Linked DNA regions of Homo sapiens: region 2 is linked to region 1. The links are contacts of gene promoters, found by promoter capture Hi-C in blood cells and fetal thymus (Javierre and others, 2016). All regions are on one chromosome and are shown on one strand. The core of a region is centred on a gene start or on the middle of the fragment in contact, and the rest is flanking DNA. Distances in the headings are between cores, read along the strand shown.

Region 1 (4,527 bases), core at 830-3,329:
TATGTTGTTCTGTTTTCCCACTAGCTTGGTCTCTCTCCTCACTATGTAATTCCAGGAGCCAAAGGAAGCCACTTCTGTTCAAGGAGGATTTAACTAGGTTTGACTGTGTGGAAGAAAGCAGGGAAGGGGAGCAGGAAAACCCTTCCAGAATGGCTCTAATGAATATCATTGCTTGGCCCTCTCACCACTCCGTTTTTGGACAAGAAACCAGAATCCATCCTTGGAGCTCAAAGTTGAACTCTTGGGATTCAGCTAGAATGAAAACAACGAGGGGGCGAGATGAGGAGGCAACACTATGTCTGGCGCAGACCCTTTGCGCTCCCCCTAACAGACTCCCAGTGAGCCTTCCTTGGCTCTGCACCTTTCCTGTCCTCCTCCTCCTCATGCAGAGGCACTCTTGGGCAAAAGTGTCCTGAGTGCTATCTGTGGACCATTGTCCACCGGTGCATGTAGTCAGAGGGTCACAAGGACAGTGTGGATCGTGCTTCCTAAAAGTGATCCTGTCTCTCCTTTCTCTCCTTCGAGTATTCGGTAGCAGGTAGGGTGGTCTTGGGACACTCCATCCGCAGAAGGGTCCCCCTAGATCCCCAGAGAAAGCCCTGTCAAAAACCACACCCAGAGGCCTCAATTAGGTCCAGAGCCACCCCAAGGCATCATGACAGTGGGACTGCCAGTGAAGGAAGCCACACCCTGAAATCTGGGGATTCTGTGGAAATCAGTTCCTGCAGCAATCTCATGGCCAGTTAAACTGTCCTCATCCACTTATTTAATCATCACATTTACTGAGCTTGTACCACTGCAAAACCCTATGCTCGGCAGGCACCTTAATGCAACTTATTAACAAATATCTATTCTTTCTTCTGCTGCTCCTTAGTACTTTTTCCCAAATAAAATTTGAAAAACATTTTATGATTATGTTTTTCATCAGCTTTGTGACCTTGGGCAAATTGCTAAACCTCTCTGAGTCTCAATGTTTAAAAGGGGATAATTTCACAAAGCTGTTGTAAGAGTTATATGAGATGTTTAAACATACCTAGTATACTGCCTAGCGTACTGGTGCTCAACAATCCCATACATCCTTTATTCCTTCCTTCAAAGGCCTTTCCCTCCAGGACCTGCCAAAGTCAGTTATTCCACCTGATCTTACTGCTTCCTTCCGCACGGTCAAACCTAGGGGCTCAAATCTCCTATCTTTGCTTTAGAGGCCTCACTGGTCCTCATCCTCGGCTTAGGGCCCTGTGCTCTCGCAGCAGTTTCTGTCTCCACTAAAATGCAGCGTGGAGCAACTGGGCTACCATGGAGAAGAAAAATCCGAATGGGGAAAGAGGAGGAATGGAAAGAGGCTGCAGCCCTAGAAGGCCCCCACCTCTGGGCCACGGTGTGGGGATACAAGTAAGGGCACATGGAACCCTACAGGGATCCCGGTGGAGGCCAAAGTCCTTGGAGCCGTGGGAAGTCACTCATGGATCCCATGGGAGGATCCCCCTCCCCAGTCAGAGGTTGCTTCCCACAGTTCTAGGGCACAGTCTCAGGTCCTCCTTTTCTAGGGAGCCCTCTGGGGGCTCCACCACCTCGAGGTTCCTGCGGCTCCCCTATGTTCCCAGGTGGTCTTCCATTGAGCCAGCTCCAGAGACCACCCTTGTGCCTGCTCCCACAGTGACACAGAAGGGCTCTCTGGGGCCAGTCCCCTCCACGCTGGGGCTCCCTATGGCAGCAAATGCAGACAGCGCCGCGGGAGTCCATTCCCACAGGGGGTCTTTATGGGGGCGGCTCCCCACAGCACCTCAGGGACTCCCCCAAGGCGTAGAGGCAGCAGCTACTTGGGGTTCATCCAATGACACAGGGGGGCCACCTTGGAGGCGGCTCCCACACAAGCACCTCAGAGTCCCGGAGGACTGTCCGCGGCCGCAGACCCGCCCCTCAGGTGACGGCCCGGTCCCCGCCGCCCCCGCCCCCGCTTACCGGGACCGTCCGGGTGCGGGACGCGGCTCCGGGGCGGCGGACTCTACACACCGCGGGCCCCGCGCAGCCCACGGCAGCCCGAGAGCCGGCGTGCTGGGCCGAGCGCCGGCAGCAGGCGGCGCGGGCGGAGCGGCAGGCTGAGGAGGCGGCGGCGGCGGCGGCGGCGGCGGCGGCGCGCGCGGCCGGAGCACACCCACCCGCCCCGGGGGGCTGCGGCGTGTGCACCCGCGCGAGGTGCCCTGGGCCGGCCGGTGGGCGCGCCCCGCCCCGCCCAGTCCTCTTGCGCCTCCAGGAGACGCCCTCGCGGCTCCGCGGGCGGCGGGTGACCGGCGACGGGCGCGCGGGCGTGGGGCGCCGTGGGAATGCGGGAGGACGGCGGACGGCTCCGATGAGCAGACGGCCCAGGTGCCCGTGGGCGCCCCCCACGAGCGCCCGGCACTGCGGCGCGGGGACTGCGCCAGCGGCCGACTGCGGCAAGGACAGTGCCCGCCCGGAGGAGGCGGCCCGGAGGGGGCGCCTTGGGGGCGCTGGGGCCGCTCACCGCTCGCGTTCCGCGCCGGGGGTTGGGTGGGGGGAAGGCGGGGTCCGGGTGGATGCCGCCACCAGCACGTGCCCGGGGTGGGGAGAATGACTCATCCAGCAGGGCCTACCAGCCGTCCCCCGCAGGGCTCCGGGCTCACGACCCCTGGCACTGGGGCACTCACCTTTGCAGTACCCCACTGGCCTCCGGAGGGTCCCAACGAACCTTCACATAATCCTCGGCTGGCCCAGCCTACCCTATGCGCTGTTTTCTGGGATTATTGGTTTTTCATCTCCAGCAGCGAGGCTGTGCTGTCGTGTAACCCACTTTTTGCTGCAGCAACCTCATCCCTCACAATATCCAAACAGCTAGCTTGTCAGAAGGCCAGCAATTCTGAGGGCTATAATGTGCATTACACCAAACTACATGCTTTGAAGAGGGCAAGAAAAAGATAAAATCGTAAGATAGCCAGCAACTAATTATAAGGAAAAATTGAAGATATGCAAATGATATGTCGAGAGCCCTTTAATTTATATTAATTGCACTTACATTTTTAAAATACCTTTATTTTCTTGTGCATTCAATTTATTTACCTCAAATATAATGCATGTCATTTTTTTGAGCGTCTAGTATTTGTTACATACTGTGCTAGGTACCCTGGTGCGATATAAAAAAGAAATTTTGCCCTTAACATGGAATTTACCAATAGAGGATATAAGGCAAGTATGGTATATTTCTATCACTTTAAAACACGAAGTGCCAGGTACTATTCTAAATGGTTTAAATATGTTGTCATTAATTTTCACACCATCCCTTTGAGGGAGTCTACTGTTAGTTTCGACATTTTGCCAGTGATGAAACTGAGGCAAAGAGAGGTTAAACAACTCGCCCAAGGTCACATGGCTAATATGTGATGGAGGTGAGACTGAAATTCAGGTATTCTGATTTCATACCGCAAGCTCCTATTTCTCAGTCCTGCCACTGAGAAAGGAGAGGCTATAAACCATTAATATATGGAGTTCTAAAATTAGTACTTATTAGTTCTAAAATTAGTGCTTATTTCTCAAGAGACACTATGGTTATTTTGCTTGTTGTGAAACTAGCACTAAAAAGCAGACTGAGCCTTCCATATAGTCTGGGGGTCCCCCCCTAACTTTCTTTAGAATTACATCATACCGACAGTTTCACAGATAGACTTCTCTGAACTGTTTTTAGTAAGTGTTTTATTTCTAGGCTGTCTGATGGGCTTATATGGAAAAGGAGGTTGTAACATCATCATATAAATCTCTGTCGGTTAATTCCTTCCTTCATTCAAAAAAATTTATATTGTGGCCAGGCGTGGTGGCTCACGCCTGTAATTCCAGCACTTTGGGAGGCCGAGGCAGGTGAGTCACCTGAGGTCGAGACCAGCCTGGCCAACATAGTGAAACCCCACCTCTACTAAAAACACAACAATTAGCCAGGTGCAGTGGCACGCGCCTGTGGTCCCAGCTACTCGGGAGGCTGAGGCAGGAGAATCTCTTGAATCCAGGAGGCAGAGGTTGCAGTGAGCCAAGATCGCACCACTGCATTCCAGCCTGGGTGACAGAGCGAAACTCCGTCACACACACACACAAAAGTACATTGTGTATCTGTACAATGCCAGGCATTGTGCTGAGAACTAGAAAGGGTGCAAATAAGAGTAAGACACAGTACTTTCCCTCAAAGAACTATAATCTCATAGAGGACAAGCATTGACAGAGAACCATAATCATAATACAAAAGAGAAAATCAGTGTGCGCAATAGAGGAATGAAATACAATGGAAGTTCCAAGGTGGGAGAGACAGATTACTTTATGAAGGGAGGTACTTGGGTTAAGGAATGCATAATGACCATTTAAATTATTGTTGGTATTAAAACATTAAAAGTCATATCAAAATTTATCAATTTCATTTTTTAATTACATGCAGTTTTTCTCATGTTGAGGAGAGACAGCTTTTACTACGTTATTGTTCAGAGAATGGAGAGGTTAGAAAGTGCAAACTTTTTGGAGGTAGTTTATGCA
Region 2 (4,527 bases), core at 809-3,308, 510 kb before region 1:
AATACCAGTTCTGACAAGCATATGGGGGAAAACAAAATGTCATATATTTTTGGTGGGATTATAAAGTTATGCGAATCTACCTGGAGGGCAATGTGGCACTATTTAATGTATTAAAACGTGGCTACCTTTTGACCAATGAATTTTACTTCTAGGACTTTATTCTAAAGAAATAATTATCAGAAAAGTAGACAAAATGTATGTTCCATAATGATTACCAAAATGTCATTTGTAATCGCAAAGGAAAATGGAATAAAAATAAGAAATTAAATAAATTAAGGTACAGTGATACAACTGAATAGTGGACACCCATTCAAAATGATGATGTAGACCTAGACCTACCGACATGGAAAGATGACGACAATAATAGTGTCAAGTGAACAAAAGGAAACTGGAAATAGCATGCATACTATGATTTTATCTCCCCCATCTTCTAGATCTAGATGTACATATGTGTGTGTGTATACACATATGAAAAGCATAGGATATACTCCCCAACTTTACACTGGCTATCTAAATGGGATGGAATAATTTTAACTTTCTTCACACATTTCTGTATTATTTAATTTTTTTTTTTACAGTGAGCATGGATTATTTTTTAAAGAGAAAAAGCCAATAAAGCTATTTTTGTTTAAAAAGAACAAACGAAGATCTTCAGAATTAAACATAGGTCATTTATATAATGCTTTCTGATATTACAGGACCAGTAAAAGCTTTAATATTTCAGTGGCTAAGGGAGTCTCGATTTGTATTAAGGATGCTTCTCTGAAGCACAGCCTCACTCAGCTCCCACATGCATTTCCCATGGAGCTGTAATCACTCACCTCAGAGACCGTCACCCTCTGTCCATCCTTGTCATAAGTATCACCTGTTGGTAAGTGAACACAGCAGAGACTTGGCAAGGGTTTTAAAGGAGGGTTTGAATTTCTTTAAATTGTTGTTAAAAAAATATACATATATATCACATAAAACTTGCCATTTTAACTATTTTAAATGTAAAATGCAATGACATTAATTATATTCACAATGTTGTGCAACAATCACCACTATATATTTCCAACATTTTTTCAGCACCCCAAACAGAAACTTCCCATTTTTTCCCATCACCAGCCCCTAGTAACCTCTAGTCTATTTTTTGTCTCTATGAATTTGCCTATTCTAGATAGTTCACATAAGTAGAATCATAAAATTTTTGTCTTTTTGTGTTTAGCTTACATCACTTAGCATAATGCTTTCAAGGTTCATCCATGTTGTAGCATGTATCAAATTTCATTACTTTTTATGGATGATTCACATTCCATTGTATGTATATGCTATACCACAGTTTCTTTATCCATTCATCTGTGGATGGACATGTGGGTTATTTCTATCTCTGGACTTATGCGAATAATGTCACAATGAACGTTGGTATACATGTATCCGAGTTCTTGTTTTCAAGTTTTGGGGGTATATACCTAGGAATCAAATTGCTGGGTCATATGGTGATTTAAAGGAGGGGCCTTAAAAGCTTATTTATTCTGATTCCTTCATCCTAGACTTGCAGTCAAGATGCCTGCCCCCCAGTCTCCTCAGGCCACCTAGCTCCCAGTTCCCAGTAAGCTCCTTTCCCTAAGCCAATGGTAAGAAGAGGTTTGCTTGGGCCTCAACTCTTCTCCCCTAAGTGAGAATAAGATGAAGCTAGAAGTTAGTCACTGGATCTGTGATAGACTTCACACCTCAGGAAGCCCTCCAATCATAAGAGTTACCCAGAAGAGATGTGGACACAGTTTTAGAATGTTTGGGATTCTTGACCAGTGGATGACAGACTGAATAGGGGTAGAAGACATGTCTGATGCCAAGCATGGAAACACTCATGGTCCTTTTCAACTTTACCCAGTATATGGTCAGGTCAGAGAATTAAGAGGCTCACCCAAATCAGCTCATCCAAAAATAAGCCTTCAGAGTTTATATAAGTGAAAATTTGTTTGACATGGTTACCAAACAAATAATAGGAAATATAGGAAATAATAGGAAATATTAGAGTGCTCTAGTCTTTTTTTTTTTTTTTTTTAGACAGGAGTTTCACTCTTGTCACCCAGGCTGGAGTGCAGTGGCATGATCTTGGCTCACTGCAACTTCCACCTCCCGGGTTTAAGAAATTCTCCCACCTCAGCCTCCCAAGTAGCTGGGATTACAGGCATGTGCCACCATGCCTGGCTAATATTTTTGTATTTTTTGTTGAGATGGGGTTTCACCATGTTGGCCAGGCTCGTCTCGAGCTTCTGACCTCAGGTGATCCGCCTGCCTCAGACTCCCAAAGTATTGAAATTACAGGCGTGAGCCAACGCACCCGGCCTAGCTTTTTTTAATTAAAAAATTTCAATTACTTATTGATATGAAATTTACTTAGTTAACATATAATTATCCATTTTAATGTGTACAATTTAGAGGCATTTAGTGCATTTACAATGTGCAACTACCACCTCTCTCAAGTTTCTAAACTTTTTCGTCACCCCAGAAAGATTATTCCATGTGTTCTAGTTTTTTAGATGTGATTACCTTCCTCTGTTAGCTAGGACACTGGGTATGACTGTTCACACACATGAGGACTTAACTCTATCACAAAAACAAGCTTATGCTTAAGGCATAAGATAAATAAGGGATTGGGCCTGGGAGACACTGATCAAACTCTGACTACCCTTTGATGGTTTCTCTCAATAATATTTATTGCTGTAAAGGGGAATCAAGAAATTAGCAGCTTCAGTAATACATTGACTGCTCCATTTAATTTATTTTTAATTTTATTATTAATTGACAAATACTAATTGTATATATTTATGGATACAATGTGATGTTTTCATATATGTATACACCATGGAATGATTATATCAAGCTAACTAACATATTTATCACCTTGCATACTTATTTTTTTGTAGTGAGAACATTTAAAACTCTTTTAGTAATTTTGAAATATGCAATACATTATTATTAACTAGGATCAACATGCTGTGCAATGGATCTTGAAGACTTATTCCTCCTGCCTAACTGAAACTTTGTACCCTTTGACCAACATCCATCTGATTTAAAGTGGGAGTGAACTGAGTACATAGACATTGGGGACTCCTTGAGGACAGAGACTAAGTCTTGCACATCTCGGTATTCTCAATGCCCAACACAATAGATTGTACCTATAAGATGCTAAATAAATGCTTTTTGGTTAGAACTGTTTGGGCTGGGTGGTCTTTGCTTAGAGAATAGAGACAGTTGTGAGAATAGGAGATAAATGTGAATTCCAGAGGCTTACAGATTTAGAGCTAGATTAGTCTTGAAAACAATTTGCAAAGTAAAAATTTCCCAGGACTTGGGGAAAGCAGGAAGACATGCATATCATAGAGCTTCCCATTAATAGAACATTTGTTGAAAATCATAATGTTCTGAGTCAGAGTCCCTGTTTTGTCAGAGAACACATATTTGACTTGGCCGAGCTCCTCAGTAAGGGTGGTAGTACGAGCCTGTGCTGGTGTGTTCCTTGGTGCATAAAACATCTTCCGATCCCAGTTGATATATAAACTGTTGCCCAATCTTATTATTTCAACACTAAGGAGAAAGCAGAAAAAGAATGGTTCTGCGTCAGAACAGGACAAGCAAATATATCATCCTGGTTTCTTTCTTAGCAGGGCTAAGCATCTGAAAATCAGAGTGTCTTCCTTGGGATTCTACCCTTCTGAAGGACCCTTCCCACCAGCCAACCCATTGTAATGCTGACTTTGGCCATTATCACCCAAGGCTTTACCACCTGGACCCAGATATACTTGATTAACTTTTTTGAGTCATACCTGGCTTTTATTCTTTTTTTTTTTTTCCATAATGTATCCAGGAAAAGTTACAATTTTGGAATTTCTGCAGTAATGCAAGGTGTGATAGAGTAACAGTTAACTTATAAAAGGCTGTGTTGGCCCAATTGGAGGATTATTGCTCCTGTCACATGGGGAAGACAGAGAACCTTGACACACTCAGAGTTTATTTCAGAAGAAGGAAAGAAGCTATGAAAATCAGGAATAGTTTATGGGCTGACCCTCTGATAAATTTCCAGGCAGAGCCAGCCTGCCTGTGGTGTGTCTCCTCCCACAACAACCTCTTCTCATTTTATATAAGTTTTCCCTATTGCCTCTGTCATACTCCTCTTCTGCTCCAAATAGCGTCCATTATAGATTCTTTATGGCTAACAAGCATGTTCATTTTAAAACAGTGAAGACTTTTAAGGGGTCTCCTTCTTATCATCATTCATACTTAATGTGTGTTAGTCTGCTTTATTATAAGAGTGATTATTAGTAATCCCTGTCTGAGACAGCTGCACTGACAGATGGGGATTTTTTCCTTTGAGGTGAGGAAGGAGGTGCTCAGGTCCTCATCATTGACTCATTACTGATAATCTCTATGCCTGGAGTTGGGACCCCTCCCATCCTTTACCATATCAGCCACCATAGCAATCTCTCTAAACCTTAGCACATAGTAGATACTCAATAAATATTACTAAATAAGGTAATCTAG

Evidence for each region. The method cuts DNA at HindIII sites, captures the fragments that hold promoters and counts their contacts. A CHiCAGO score of 5 or more calls a contact.
Region 2: a contact is called between a fragment that was not itself captured here and the fragment with the promoter of PHF24 in region 1, in 3 of 17 cell types (M2 macrophages, megakaryocytes and erythroblasts). The highest score is 7.3, in M2 macrophages.

The regions. Positions count from the first base shown.
Region 1 is chr9:34,955,837-34,960,363 of GRCh38, reverse strand. It overlaps PHF24 (PHD finger protein 24), which reads right to left and starts at 2,079. Exons shown (of 8, transcript NM_015297.3): 1 at 1,963-2,079. RefSeq lists a silencer at 1,952-2,031 and an enhancer at 3,381-3,520. The HindIII fragment of the contact is 16,428 bases long and covers 1-4,527 here.
Region 2 is chr9:35,470,066-35,474,592 of GRCh38, reverse strand. It overlaps the pseudogene ATP8B5P. Among named protein-coding and RNA genes, the nearest start is that of RUSC2, 18 kb to the left of the region's middle. The HindIII fragment of the contact is 1,104 bases long and covers 1,507-2,610 here.